Linked DNA regions of Homo sapiens: all the other regions are linked to region 2. The links are contacts of gene promoters, found by promoter capture Hi-C in human tissues and cell types (Jung and others, 2019). All regions are on one chromosome and are shown on one strand. The core of a region is centred on a gene start or on the middle of the fragment in contact, and the rest is flanking DNA. Distances in the headings are between cores, read along the strand shown. Region 1 has its middle 6.2 kb from the start of ZNF607. Region 2 holds the start of ZNF829 (zinc finger protein 829). Region 3 overlaps ZNF793-AS1 (ZNF793 antisense RNA 1).

Evidence for each region. The method cuts DNA at HindIII sites, captures the fragments that hold promoters and counts their contacts. A contact is called where the count stands out against the background at its distance.
Region 1: a contact is called between a fragment that was not itself captured here and the fragment with the promoter of ZNF829 in region 2, in 1 of the 25 tissues and cell types used here (dorsolateral prefrontal cortex).
Region 3: a fragment that was not itself captured here is called in contact with the fragment with the promoter of ZNF829 in region 2 in 1 of the 25 tissues and cell types used here (dorsolateral prefrontal cortex).

What each region holds. Positions count from the first base shown.
Region 1 is chr19:37,723,993-37,728,021 of GRCh38, reverse strand. No RefSeq gene overlaps it. Among named protein-coding and RNA genes, the nearest start is that of ZNF607, 6.2 kb to the right of the region's middle. The HindIII fragment of the contact is 5,602 bases long and covers 1-4,029 here.
Region 2 is chr19:36,914,743-36,918,866 of GRCh38, reverse strand. It overlaps ZNF829 (zinc finger protein 829), which reads left to right and starts at 2,576. Exons shown (of 6, transcript NM_001037232.4): 1 at 2,576-2,856; 2 at 3,616-3,737; 3 at 3,845-3,902. The coding sequence starts at 3,700. It overlaps ZNF568 (zinc finger protein 568), which reads right to left and starts at 2,535. Exons shown (of 7, transcript NM_198539.4): 1 at 2,276-2,535; 2 at 1,219-1,288. RefSeq lists enhancers at 2,451-2,830, 2,891-2,940. The HindIII fragment of the contact is 11,398 bases long and covers 1-4,124 here.
Region 3 is chr19:37,500,745-37,505,381 of GRCh38, reverse strand. All of the region lies in intron 2 of ZNF793-AS1 (ZNF793 antisense RNA 1), which reads left to right. Among named protein-coding and RNA genes, the nearest start is that of ZNF793, 3.9 kb to the left of the region's middle. The HindIII fragment of the contact is 3,954 bases long and covers 1-3,667 here.

The sequences.
Region 1 (4,029 bases), core at 812-3,311, 810 kb before region 2:
GCCTGGGCAACAAGAACGAAACTTCATCTCAAAAAAATATATATATAAAATGCATTGCTGCTTAGACGTGTTTGGATACTTACCAGCAGCCCTCATGAGAATGACAGATTCTTTAATGTGTGAAAAATTTTAATGCAGGGTGAGTAAATATCCACTAATAGTTTTATTTTATTGCCTCATGTTAAAATTATAATTTGTCACATAATTAGCATTGATTGCATTAAATATTAAGCAATTGACATTCCTCTAGATCTGCACTGTCAGGTAGATACAGTAGCCACCAGCTACACGTGGCCATTTTAAATTAATTTAAATTTAATAAGGCATAAAATTGAGTTCACCAGTAGGACTAGTCACAGTTAAGTGTTCAATAGCCATGTGTATTGGACTTTACAGATACAGTAGTCCCCTCTTTATCTAATGTTTCCTTGTTGTTAATCTCTTGCTGTGCCTAATTTATAAATTAAACTTTATCATAAGTACATATGTTTAGTAAAAAAATAGGATGGTTTGGTGCCATCCTTGGTTTCAGGCTTCCCCTGGGGGTCTTGGAACATAACCCCTGCAGATAAGAGGGAGACTACTGTATACAATGTTTCCATTATTAGAAAACTTTCTATTAGGAATATTCTGAATACTTATATTCTATTCAGATAAAAAATAATCTTATGGATTTAACCAATGAAATATTGCCAAGCACTTAATTATCATTTGCAAAATTAATTGAGCAATGTTAGGTATATATTAAAAATCATAGGCTGGGTGTGGTGGCTCACGCCTTTAATTCCAGCACTTTGGGAGGCCGAAGAGGGAGGATTACTTGAAGTCAGGAGTTCAAGAACAGCCCTGGCAACATAGTGAGACCCTGTGTCTACAAAAAAAAATTTTTTTTAATTAGGCATACTGGTGCATGCCTGTAGTACCAGCTACTCTGGAGGCCAAGGCAGGAGGATTGCTTGATCCTAGGAGTTTGAGATTGCAGTGAGCTATGATGGCACTACTGCACTCTATCCTGGGCAATAGAGTGAGAACCTGTCTCTAAAAAAGCAAAGAAAAGTCGTTAATTTTTAGCAGATACTTGAAAGCATCTTTTTTTTTTCTTTGAGACGGAGTCTCGCTCTGTGGCCCAGGCTGGAATGCAGTGGCATGATCTCGGCTCACTGCAAGCTCCATCTCCCAGGTTCACACCATTCTCCTGCCTCAGCCTCCCGAGTAGCTGGGATTACAGGTGCCCATCACCTTGCCCGGCTAATTTTTTTATTTTTAGTAGAGACGGGGTTTCACCATGTTAGCCAGGATGGTCTCAATCTCCTGACCTCGTGATCCGCCCGCCTTGGCCTCCCAAAGTGCTGGGATTACAGGCTTGAGCCACCACGCCCGGTCTGAAAGCATCTTAAATATTTTAAAGTGGAAACAATATGCAAAAAAGTTGTAATATTGATTTATATTTTATTTTTTTGAGACGGAGTCTCACTCTGTTGCCCAGGCTGGAGTGCAGTGGTGCGATCTTGGCTCACTGCAACCTCCGCCTCCCGGGTTCAAGCAATTCTCTGCCTCAGCCTCCCAAATAGCTGGATTACAGGTGTCCGCCACCACACCTGGCTAATTTTTTGTATTTTTAGTAGAGACAGGGTTTCACCATCTTGGCCAGGCTGGTCTTGAACTCCTGGCCTTGTGATCCACCCGCCTTGGCCTCCCAAAGTGCTGGGGTTACAGGCGTGAGCCACTGTGCCTGGCTATTCTTACTATTTTTATGCACTTATGTTCTATTCCTTCCTATTTTTCTCTCTACAGTTAATGGTAATTGAGCAATTTTTAGATACTCCTCTAGTTTCCATGGTCTTCACTGAGACACACGCATGCAAAGACGTAATCACAAAAAAAGAAAGCTTTACCATGTGGATTATCAACCACATGTTTCTTGATCAGGGCCTTGGTCTTGGTGATCTTATGGAAGAGATCATTAAGTGTTTTTCTTTTAGCTTTTTCTTCTTAAATAAGCATTATTGAGATAAAGCAAGATATAATTTTAGGCTGAACACAGTGGCTCACTCCTGTAATCCCCACATTTTGGGAAGCCAAGGTGGGAGGATCCTTTGAGCCCAGGAGTTTGAGACAAGGCTGGAGAACAAAACAACAAGACTCATCTCTACAAAAAGTAAAAAAAAAAATTGCCAGGCATGGTGGCATGCACCTGTAGTCCCAGTTACTCGGGAAGCTGAGGCAAGAGGATCGCTTGAGCCAGGAGTTTGAGGCTGCCATGAGGGCACCACTGCACGTTAGCCTGGACTACAAAGCAAGACCCTATCTCAAAAAAAAAAAAATTAAAATTTTGCTTACTTTTAAGATATAATAACAGGGTAGGATGTACCCTCCCATCTCAATAATTTTTAAAAATATATAGAATGACAGTTTTCAGACACTGAACAACAAGCAGACCACAATCCCCATTTGCAGAAACCACCAAGGTGAGCTCTATTATTTCTCCCAACTTAACATCTGGAGTATTTTCAGTCCATTGCTCAGGGAGAGTTAACAGAAGCAGAGCCCAGTGTTCTTCCCGAATTGAGACACAAACTTGAGGATTTGCAGAAGCCAGGGTATGTGGAACAAAGTACTAGACAGGAACAACCTCCATGAAGAGATCTCTGGAGCGCTGCCAGGGAGTTCCCTTTGAATCTTCAGCTGAAAGTACTGACCAGTTAGCTATATGTGAAAACACCTGAAGCTGTGGAAAAACCCACTTGAAATGAATAGAGGGAATAATCCTCATAGCTCAAACAAGTCCAGGAATAGCAGGTGTTACCAATAGCCAAAGTGGAAAAACCCTCATAATTCACAAGACCTCGGATACTCAGAAGTATACTGTCTTAAGAGAGAGGAAAAATCAGCTTTGGACTAATTAGTCTTGCTCTGGTCCTGCCTTATCAAAGCTGAAAAAGAACCCATGAAAAAGATCAAACTGTTTTCAAGTTACGTGAACTATATTTCAAAACAAAGCTCAAAAATATTGAAAAATATACCAGAATACCTGGCAAGGTAACATTTCAATGTTTAGCATCCAATCAAAAGTTACAAGACGGGTGGGTGCAGTGGCTCACGCCTGTAATCCCAGCACTTTGGGAGGCTGAGGTGGGCAGATCATCTGAGGTTGGGAGTTCCAGACCAGCCTGACCAAAACGAAGAAAACCCGTTTCTACTAAAAATACAAAAAATTAGTCGGGCCTGGTGGTGCATGCCTGTAATCCCAGCTACTCGGGAGGCTGAGGCAGGAGAATCACTTGAACCCGGGGAGGTGGAAGTTGCAGTGAGCAGAGATCACACCATTACAATCCAGCCTGGGCAACAAGATCGAGACTCTGTCTCAAAAAAAGAAAAAAAAAAAGGTTACAAGACATGCAAAGGACCAGGAAAACATGACACATAACGAGGAGCAAAATTGATTAATCAAAATTGTCTCACGTATTAGAATTGACAGGTTATCAGAATAATTATAATGATATTTCATATGTTGACAAAGGTAGACCAAAATATAAGCACTTTTTTTTTCTTTTTTTTTTTAAAGACAGGGTATCACTCTTTGGCCCAGACTGGAGTGCAGTGGCCCAGTCATGGCTCACTGCAGCCTCGACCTCTTGAGCTCAGTTGATCTTCCCACCTCAGCCTCCCTGGTAGCTGGGACTGCAGGCATGCACCACCATGCCCAGCTAATTTTTTGTATTTTCTAGTAGAGACAGGGTCTTGCTTTAGCCTCTCAAACTGCTGGGATTACATGTGTAAGCCACTGCACCTGGCTGAAATATAAGCACTTTTAGGAGAATCATGGGAGATGTTTTTTTAAACCACATTAAACATCCACAAATGAAAACTACAATGTCTGAGATGTAAAATACTCTGGAGAAATGATTAGATATTGCAGGAAAAGGATTAGTAAGCTTAAAAATTTTCCCAATTGGTGAAAACTGTAGACTTACAAATTGAAGCAACTCAGTGAATTCTAATCACAAGAAATGTAGAAATCTAAACAAA
Region 2 (4,124 bases), core at 1,327-3,826:
TGAAGTATTTAGAATAGTCAAATTCAGAGACAGAAAGTAGAATGGTAGATGCCATAGGCCGGGGGAAAGGGGGGTACAGAGTTATTGTTTGATAGGTACTGGGTTTCTGTTTTGCAAGAAGAAGAGTTCTCTGGCTGGATGGTGGTGACGGTACCATAACAATGTGAATGTACTTCATGCCACTGAACTGTACACTTATATATGGTTTAGATGGTAAATTCTATGTTGTGTATTTTACCACAATTAAATATACATGTGTGTATACATAGTTGGTCCTCCTTATCCACAGGTTCTGCATCCTCAGATTCAATCAGCCTCAGATAAAAAATACAGTTAGGCCTACTACAGTTGTGTCTGTACTGAACACGTACAGTACAGATTTTTTTCTCATTATTCCCTAAACAATAACGTGTAACAATGATTTACACAGCATTTACATTATATTAGGTATTACAAATAATCTAGAGATGATTTAATGTATAAAGAAGGATGTAGGGACTTGAGCATCTGTGGATTCTGGTATCCATGGGGGGTCTTGAAACCAACCCCTCCTGGATACGAACTGTATATAGAATAAATGAGCTACTACTACTAATTTGGGGATTTAAAACTAGAAGAGAATAGGCTGGGCATGGTGGCTTACGCCTGTAATCCCAGCACTTTGGGAGGCTGAGGTCGGCAAATCACGAGGTCAGGAGATCTACCATGGTGGCTAACATGGTGAAACCCTGTCTCTGCTAAAAATACAAAAAATCAGCCGGGCGTGGTGGCGCGTCTGTAGTCCCAGCTACTCGGGAGGCTGAGGCAGGAGAATCGCTTGAACTCGGGAGGCGGAGTTTGCAGTGAGCCGAGACCGTGCCACTGCACTCCAGCCTGGGTGACAGAGCGAGACTCCGTCTCAAAAAAACAAAACAAAACAACAACAACAACAAAAACTAGAAGAAAATAATATATGAGACAAGAATAACACAGAAATTGGTGGATATTTTGGAGTTCAAGTATTTTAAAGTCTTAAGGTTGAGTTTTGTTAAGCATGCATATTAAAAAAGGATAATAGCAGAAACCAACCTAGGGGAGAAAAAGGGATAAGGTGAATTTGCACAATAAAAAAAGATATATGTGCAACTATTATATGTCAATCAAAAATGTTTAAGGCGTAATAGAAAATAAAACATTTTTTATGAGCAATCATGATAAATGCCACTGAACTATACTCACCTATTAAAATAACAGTCAAACAAGATAAACGGATGTAAGCCCAGCAATATGCTCTTTACAAGACACAGATCTGAAACATAAAGACACAAGGGGGTTAGAAAATGAAATTCTTAAGAAATACAATAAAACTTGAAAAGCAATATTATCAGACAAAAGAGAACCCGGACTAAAAGGCATTCACCAGGATAAAGAGGTATGTTTCTTAAGGTGGTAGACTGGAATTTTAGTCCAATTCCTCACACCCTCTAATAGATTATTATTCATACTCTTTGCGAGGTAACTTTGCTCTCCAACTGTGGGCATAATTGATTTTAGGCTTAGCCATGTGACTTGCTCTGGTTGAGGCAATCTCTCTTGCGCTCTGGTGACCCATCAGGAGCAGAGCATGCCCTGGCAACAAATGTCCTTTTGGCCTGAGACCCTGAAAGAACACATGCGGCGCAGATCTTAACTCGTCACGCAGCCTATCCACTCAGCCAAGCCCCACCTAGATCAGCTGAACACAGTCAATGCGCAAGCCTGTGAACAGGAGAGTAAGGACTTGCTGTTGTATGGCATTGAGTTCAGGGGTGGTTTTTAGACATAATTATTATCATGGCAATAGCTAACTAACATACATAAAAGCAGCAAGTCATAAGATAATAATGAACCTGAAAAGTTCGCCAAGGAATAGTGGAAAATTACAAAGGGCCAAGGGCTACTAGGGTAAAAAAGACAGCAAAGAAGACTACAGAGGAGTGGCCAACAAGGAGGGAGGATCAGTAGAAAACAAATAAGTGTTTTTCAAGCCGTTACCAACTGTGCCAAATGCTACAGAAAAGCCAGCTCAAGACAAGAACTACTAGACATATTACAATCACGCACACTTCGCCACGTTCACACTCGCTACAGCCTTAATCATAATCACACACATATCACACATTTCATCATAATCCCGCGCAACCAAATATCACAATCACCCCATCAGATTATTCGTGCCGTCACACTCACACACACAACCACACACCCACACTAACTCCCATCACAGTTTTTTGTCCCATCAACTGCAACCACTCACCATTAGCGTACCCTGAGCACTCCCCACTGCCGCTACTCGGGACACTCTGGGCCTTAGAGGATCCGTGTCCCGTCAACCGCGAGTCCCTTGCTCGCCCCCTGCTGCGGGGACTCGGCAGCGTCACCTGCCGGAAACACCCGAATGTTCATCCCGCGCGCAGTTTCTGAGATGCTGGGTGAAGGCGACCCGCAGATAGGTCTGTGACAGACGCCTAAAGCGCCGAACCATCCCTCCGCGCCAGCGACGTTTCCGAGGACAACACCTCCCAGCAGGCCCCGCGGCCCCACTCAACTTCCGGCCAGAACACATCTGCTTTCCTGTGTGAGGGTGAGGCTTGGGCCGGGTTCCCCGGGAGGCTCATCTCCATTGCGCAGCGCTACGGCGACCCGCAACTCCGAGGCTCGGCTGGATGTTGAGAGTTGAGGGAGCAGCCGTTTCGGGTGGGCCCAGGCGAGGAGCTGACAGGAATCGGCGTGGGTCCCGCTCTGGACTACATTTCCCAGAGGGCCTGGTGGCCTGCCACTTTTCTCGCAGGAATTCGAACGTTTCGTCACTCCTGGCGGGACCCTTAGATCTGGGAGGTGAGATATTTTGGTCCCCAGGAGAACTGGCTCAGGTCTGCAAGTTCCCATCCGGGATGACTGGAAAGGGCTTAGGTGAGGATACCGAAGACCGATGGGGAGCTGGCGCCTTGGGCCCCTGCGGGCGGAGCGGCCTGAAAGGTGGAGGTTGTGTTTGGGAGGCCGAGGCAGGAGGATCACGAGGTCAAGAGATCGAGACCATCCTGGCCAACATGGTGAAACCCCATCTCTACTAAAAATACAAAAATTAGCTAGGCATGGTGGCGCGCGCCTGTAATCCCAGCTACTCGCAGGCTGAGGCAGGAGAATCACTTGAACCCGGGAGGCGGAGGTTGCAGTGAGCCGAGATCGCACCACTGCACTCCAGCCTGGCGACAGGGCAAGACTCTGTCCCCACCCCACCCCACCCCCCCAAAAAAAGAGGGGAGGTTGTGAAATTGTCTGGGAGATAATAACACTGCGGCTTATGTGCGGATATGGGATACCTGTCACTGTGGGGGTTGTGGCTGTGTGTTCCCGTGGTGATGTGTGATTGTGACTCTGCGACAGTGTGGGGTGCCTACGATTGTGCAGCTGTAATTGTGTGTTTCCTATGGTGTGTATGTGATTGTAACTGTGTTGCCGTGTGTGGCTCCTTGTGGGCAGGTGAGACGTGCATGTCGCCTTAAGTGTGACTGTCCCTAAATGTATGTGGCATTCTGTGTATGAGTATGGGGTCCTGTCAACTATGCGATTGTGACTCCAGAACTCTGTCTCTAGGAAACCTCTCTGAGGTCTGGTCAGATTCCAACCCTGGACAGCAGTGAACACAACCTTTCCCCTGAGCCACTGGAATTGGACAGAATGCCCCATTCTCCTCTGATCTCCATTCCTCATGTGTGGTGGGTAATGGGGCTGGGGAAGAACTCTTACTTGACTAATCTGGGTACCAAGAAAAACCTGGTGTCTCACAGTTACTCTTCCCTCTCCCAATTTTACCTTTCTCCAGGTGTCACCCAGAAGAGGAGGAAAGAATGCATGATGAACTTCTACAAGCAGTATCCAAGGTGTGTTGGGGTTTCCTCTTTTTCTTCTGAAAATTCTTGCTTAAAGGAATGTCATTTAATTATAGGTCCCTATAATTTTCCCATCACAGAAAAGGATGGTTGCTCCACTTATGCTTGCTGAATTTTCTTCTCAAATATTTATTCTGATTTAAAAATAAAAGGATGATTAATTTAGAGATCTCAAAAACACAGCATTACCAAGAAAAAATAAAATTTAGCCAC
Region 3 (4,637 bases), core at 441-2,940, 590 kb before region 2:
GCAGCCCCTGCCAATAGTTTGACTGCAACTGCGTGAGAGACACAGTCACAAGCACTCAGCTATAGCAGCTCCTATATTCCTCACCCTCAGAAAGTGTGTAAGATACTACATGTTTGTTGTTTTAAGCTTCTGAGTTTAGGGTAATTTGCTATGCATCAGTAGATAACTTCAATGCTGTGTTAAAATGCTACAATTGACATTTCTTCTTTTTTTTTTTTTTTGAGACGGAGTTTCGCTCTTGTTGCCTAGGCTGGAGTGCATTGGTGCAATTTCAGCTCACCGCAACCTCTGCCTCCCGGGTTCAAGCGATTCTCCTGCCTCAGCCTCCTGAGTAGCTGGGATTACAGGCATGCACCACCACGCCAGGCTAATTTTGTATTTTTAGTAGAGACGGGGTTTCTCCATGTTGGTCAGGCTGGTCTCGAACTCCCGACCTCAGGTGATCCGCCTGCCTCGACCTCCCAAAGTGCTGGGACTACAGGTGTGAGCCACCGCGCCCAACCCCATTTCTGAATTCTTTAAATAAAGTTCCTAAAGTTGCGAGATTATTCTGTCAGAGGAGATTATTACCAGTTTCCTCTTCTTCCTTGCGATGGAAAAATTAAAGGCCTATGGCTCTGCTAGATTTTTAAAATTTAACAAAGAGGTCAAGGGTCCTTGCTTCATTTGATTTAATATAAGTGGTTTATATGACAACACTTTGAAGTGATTATAGTAATTAATTTAAAATCACCATTTAGGCTGGGCATGGTAGCTCACACATGTAATTCCAGCACTTTGAGAAGCCAAGGTGGGCAGATCACCTGAGGTCAGGAGTTCAAGACCAACCCGGCCAACATGTTGGAACCCCGTCTCTACTAAAAATACAAAAATTAGCCGGCATGGTGGACGCCTATAATTCCAGCTGCTCGGGAGGCTGAGGTAGGAGAATCACTGAACCCAGGAGGTGGAGGTTTCAGTGGGCCAAGATTGTGCCATTGCACTCCAGCCTGGGTGAGACTCTGTCTCTAAAAAAACAAAAATAATAATATTGAAGTAAAATGAGTATTTATAAAGTGCCTATTAAATGCCTGATTGATCACTGGCCTGCTCACTTCAAGGGCTGTTCTTATTCTAGGATTAGACCAATAAAGCAGCCACAACTGGTAAATTGTCACTCATGAAGGCCGAGGGAAAGACAGCCTTTGAGGGTCTTTTGCTGGGAATTAAACGTTCTGCCTCAAAAACTATACATGTCATTTCCATTCACTAGTCTTTGAGACGTCACATGGCCACCCAGGAGTGTGATAGCAGACATGTAATCCTACCATAATTCTGGGATGGGAAGAGCTGGCGATATTTTGGAATAACATTAAAGACTGCCACAAACATTGTAAAGATAGTGTTATCATCACGCTTCAAAAGAAACTGCAACACGGGGGTGAGGTGACCTGTCCGTAATCATTCAGTGAGTAAATAAAGCAACAAGGATTCAGAGCTGGGTGTTTCTGTGTTATTCAGAAGTAAAGGATCATTAGCATCATTATTAAATTTTACCCAAAATTTATTAGAACCTAAATATATCTCAGCAACTGAATTGGGAAAAAGAAGACTGAGTACTCGAGTAAAAATAGAGGCTACTCAAGGAGCTGACCTCTTGATTGGGGAAGGAGTACACATGGAAAGAGGAAACAGGTAAAAGAAGAGTACACACTGTAGGACTCCAGTCATGAGAAACTCAAGAACAGGCAAAACAGATCTATTGAGTTATAAATCAGAAAGCAGTTGACTCCAGGGGCTATTTTTTTTTTTTTTTTTTTTTTTTCTGAGACAGAGTCTCTACTCTGTCTCCCAGGCTGGAGTGCAGTGGTGAGATCTCCATCTCGGCCCACTGCAACCTCCTTCCAGGTTCAAGTGATTCTCGTGCCTCAGCCTCCCAGGTAGCTGGGATTACAGGCATGCGCCATCACACCCGGCTAATTTTTGTATTTTTAGTAGAGATGGCGTTTCACCATCTTAGCCAGGCTGGTCTCAAACTCCTGACCTCAAGCGATCCGCATGCCTCAGCCTCCCAAAGTGCTGGGATTACAGGCGTAAGCCACTGTGCCTGGCTGGGGCTATGACTTCGAAGATAATTTAGGGGGTGAGGAAAATGTTCTATGTCTTGTTTTATGTGGTAGTTTCATGGGCCTACGTAATTGTCAAAGACTCATCAAAGTGAACACTTATTTGTGTTATTATATGTAAATTATACCTTCATTTTTAAAAGAAAAAGCATACTATTCAGAGTATTGAGTAATGATGTGGGCCAGGGAACAGAGGGAGTGAGAAAAGAAGTAACAGAACTTTATCATAGTCTGCAGAAAGATAGGACCCTGCCAAGGTCATCATTAGCATTTATGGCCTATGACAGTGTGATTCCTCTAGGCAGAGGAATTCGAGAAAGGAGCCTCTAGGCAGACTAGCTCCAAGGCTCTGGGCTAACCCAACCTGCAGTGACCATCAGCTCTCACCTGTTCCAGTGAGCTTATGCCTATAGGTCCAAGCCTTGAACTAAATGTGGTGGCCCTAGACACTGTCATCATTTAAAAGGGTACAGGGCCCCAAATTTGGCCTAAAAGGAGGCACAGCGCTTCCTTGCTCTGGAGCAGAAAGGACCTTACCTGGGCCTGAGTGTTGTTTGTTGTGGGGGAAAGAAAAATAGATCAGACTGTTATTGTGTTTATGTAGAGAAAGGAAGACATAAGAAACTTCATTTTGATCTGTACTAAGAGAAATTCTTCTGCCTTGAGATGCTGTTAATCTGTAACCCTAGCCCCAACCCTGTGCTTGCAGAAACAGGTGCTGTATTGACTCAAGGTTTAATGGATTTAGGGCTGTGCAGGATGTGCTTTGTGAAAAATGTGTTTGCAGGCAGTATGCTTGGTAAAAGTCATCACCAATCTCCAGTCTCGAGTACCCAGGGACACAATACACTGAGGAAGGCCACAGGGACCTCTGCCCAAGAAAGCCTGGGTATTGTCCAAGATTTCTTCCCATGTGATAGCCTGAGATATGGCCTCCTGGGAAGGGAAAGACCTGACCATCCCCCAGCCCGACACCCGTAAAGGGTCTGTGCTGAGGAGGATTAGTGAAAGAGGAAGCCCTCTTTGCAGTTGAGATAAGAGGAAGGCATCTGTCTCCTGCTCGTCCCTGGGAATGGAATGTCTCATAAAACCTGATCATACATTCTATTTACCGAGATAGGAGAAAACCGCCTTGTGGTTGCTGAGACATGCTGGTGGCAATACTCTTTACTGCACTGAGATGTTCGTGTAAAGTTAAACATAAATCTGGCCTACGTGCACATCAAGGCACAGCACCTTTCCTTAAACTTATTTATGACACAGAGTCCTTTGCTCACGTTTTCCTGCTGACCCTCTCCCCACCATTACCCTATAGTCCTGCCACATGCCCCTCTCCGAGATGGTCAACATAGTGATCAATAAATACTGAGGGAATTCAGAGACTGGGGCCAGCGCGGGTCCTCTGTATGCTGAGCGCTGGTCCCCTGGGCCCACTTTTCTTCCTCTATACTTTGTGTCTTATTTCTTTTCTCAGTCTCTCGTCTCCACCTTGCAAGAAATACCCACAGGTGTGGAGGGGCAGGCCCCCTTCAGTTTGTTGCTGTTTTTTTTTTATTTTTATTTTTTGGTGTTTTGTCTGGTTTAGTTTGGCTTTTTGGTTTTTTTTTTTTTTTTTTTTTTAGAGACAGGATCTTACTCTGTTGCCCAGGCTAGAGTGCAGTGGCACAATCATGGCTCACTGCAGCCTTGAACTCCTGGCCTCAAGTGATCCCCCTGCCTCAGCCTCCCAAGTAGCTGGGACTACTGGTACACACCACCATGCCCAGCTAATTTATTTTTATTTTTATTTTTTTGTAGAGATGGGGTCTTGCCATCTTTCCCAGGCTGTGGCCTGAGTGTCAATAGGGCTGTATCTTGGCATGAGTGTAGGGTGCTCTGGATCTGGGTGGGATGTGACCATCTCCTGGATCAAGGTTGACCGTGGAAGTAGCCTGGGATGAGGAGAGGCCACAGCCCATCCTGTCCTCAGAGTATGTGGAGGCAGGAAGAGCACCGGGGCAATGGGTGAAACAAGTATCAAAGTATAATTTTCAAAAACTTATAATTTTTAACTCTTTTACAGATATTCAAAGATTCATTTCACTTATTAGCAAGGGCATTGGAAATTGATTTCCAAGTGAACAGGTATATACCTATCTTCAGTGAAAAACAATAGAATCTTCGAATAAGATTGCAAAGTTAGATATAAAACTATTTAATATCCCTACAGGGCAATAAAACCATACCTTTAAGGTTATTTCTTCCACACAGAATCAATTTGTAGCTATACCAGATGAATATATGAAAATGCATCAATTGTCTGCTGGGCGCGGTGGCTCACGCCTGTAATCCCAGCACTTTGGGAGGCCGAGGCGGGCAGATCACGAGGTCAGGAGATCGAGACCATCCTGGCTAACATGATGAAACCCCGTCTCTACTAAAAATACAAAAAATTAGCCAGGCATGGTGGTGGGTGCCTGTAGTCCCAGCTACTTGGGAGGCTGAGGCAGGAGAATGGCGTGAACCCAGGAGGTGGAGCTTGCAGTGAGTCCA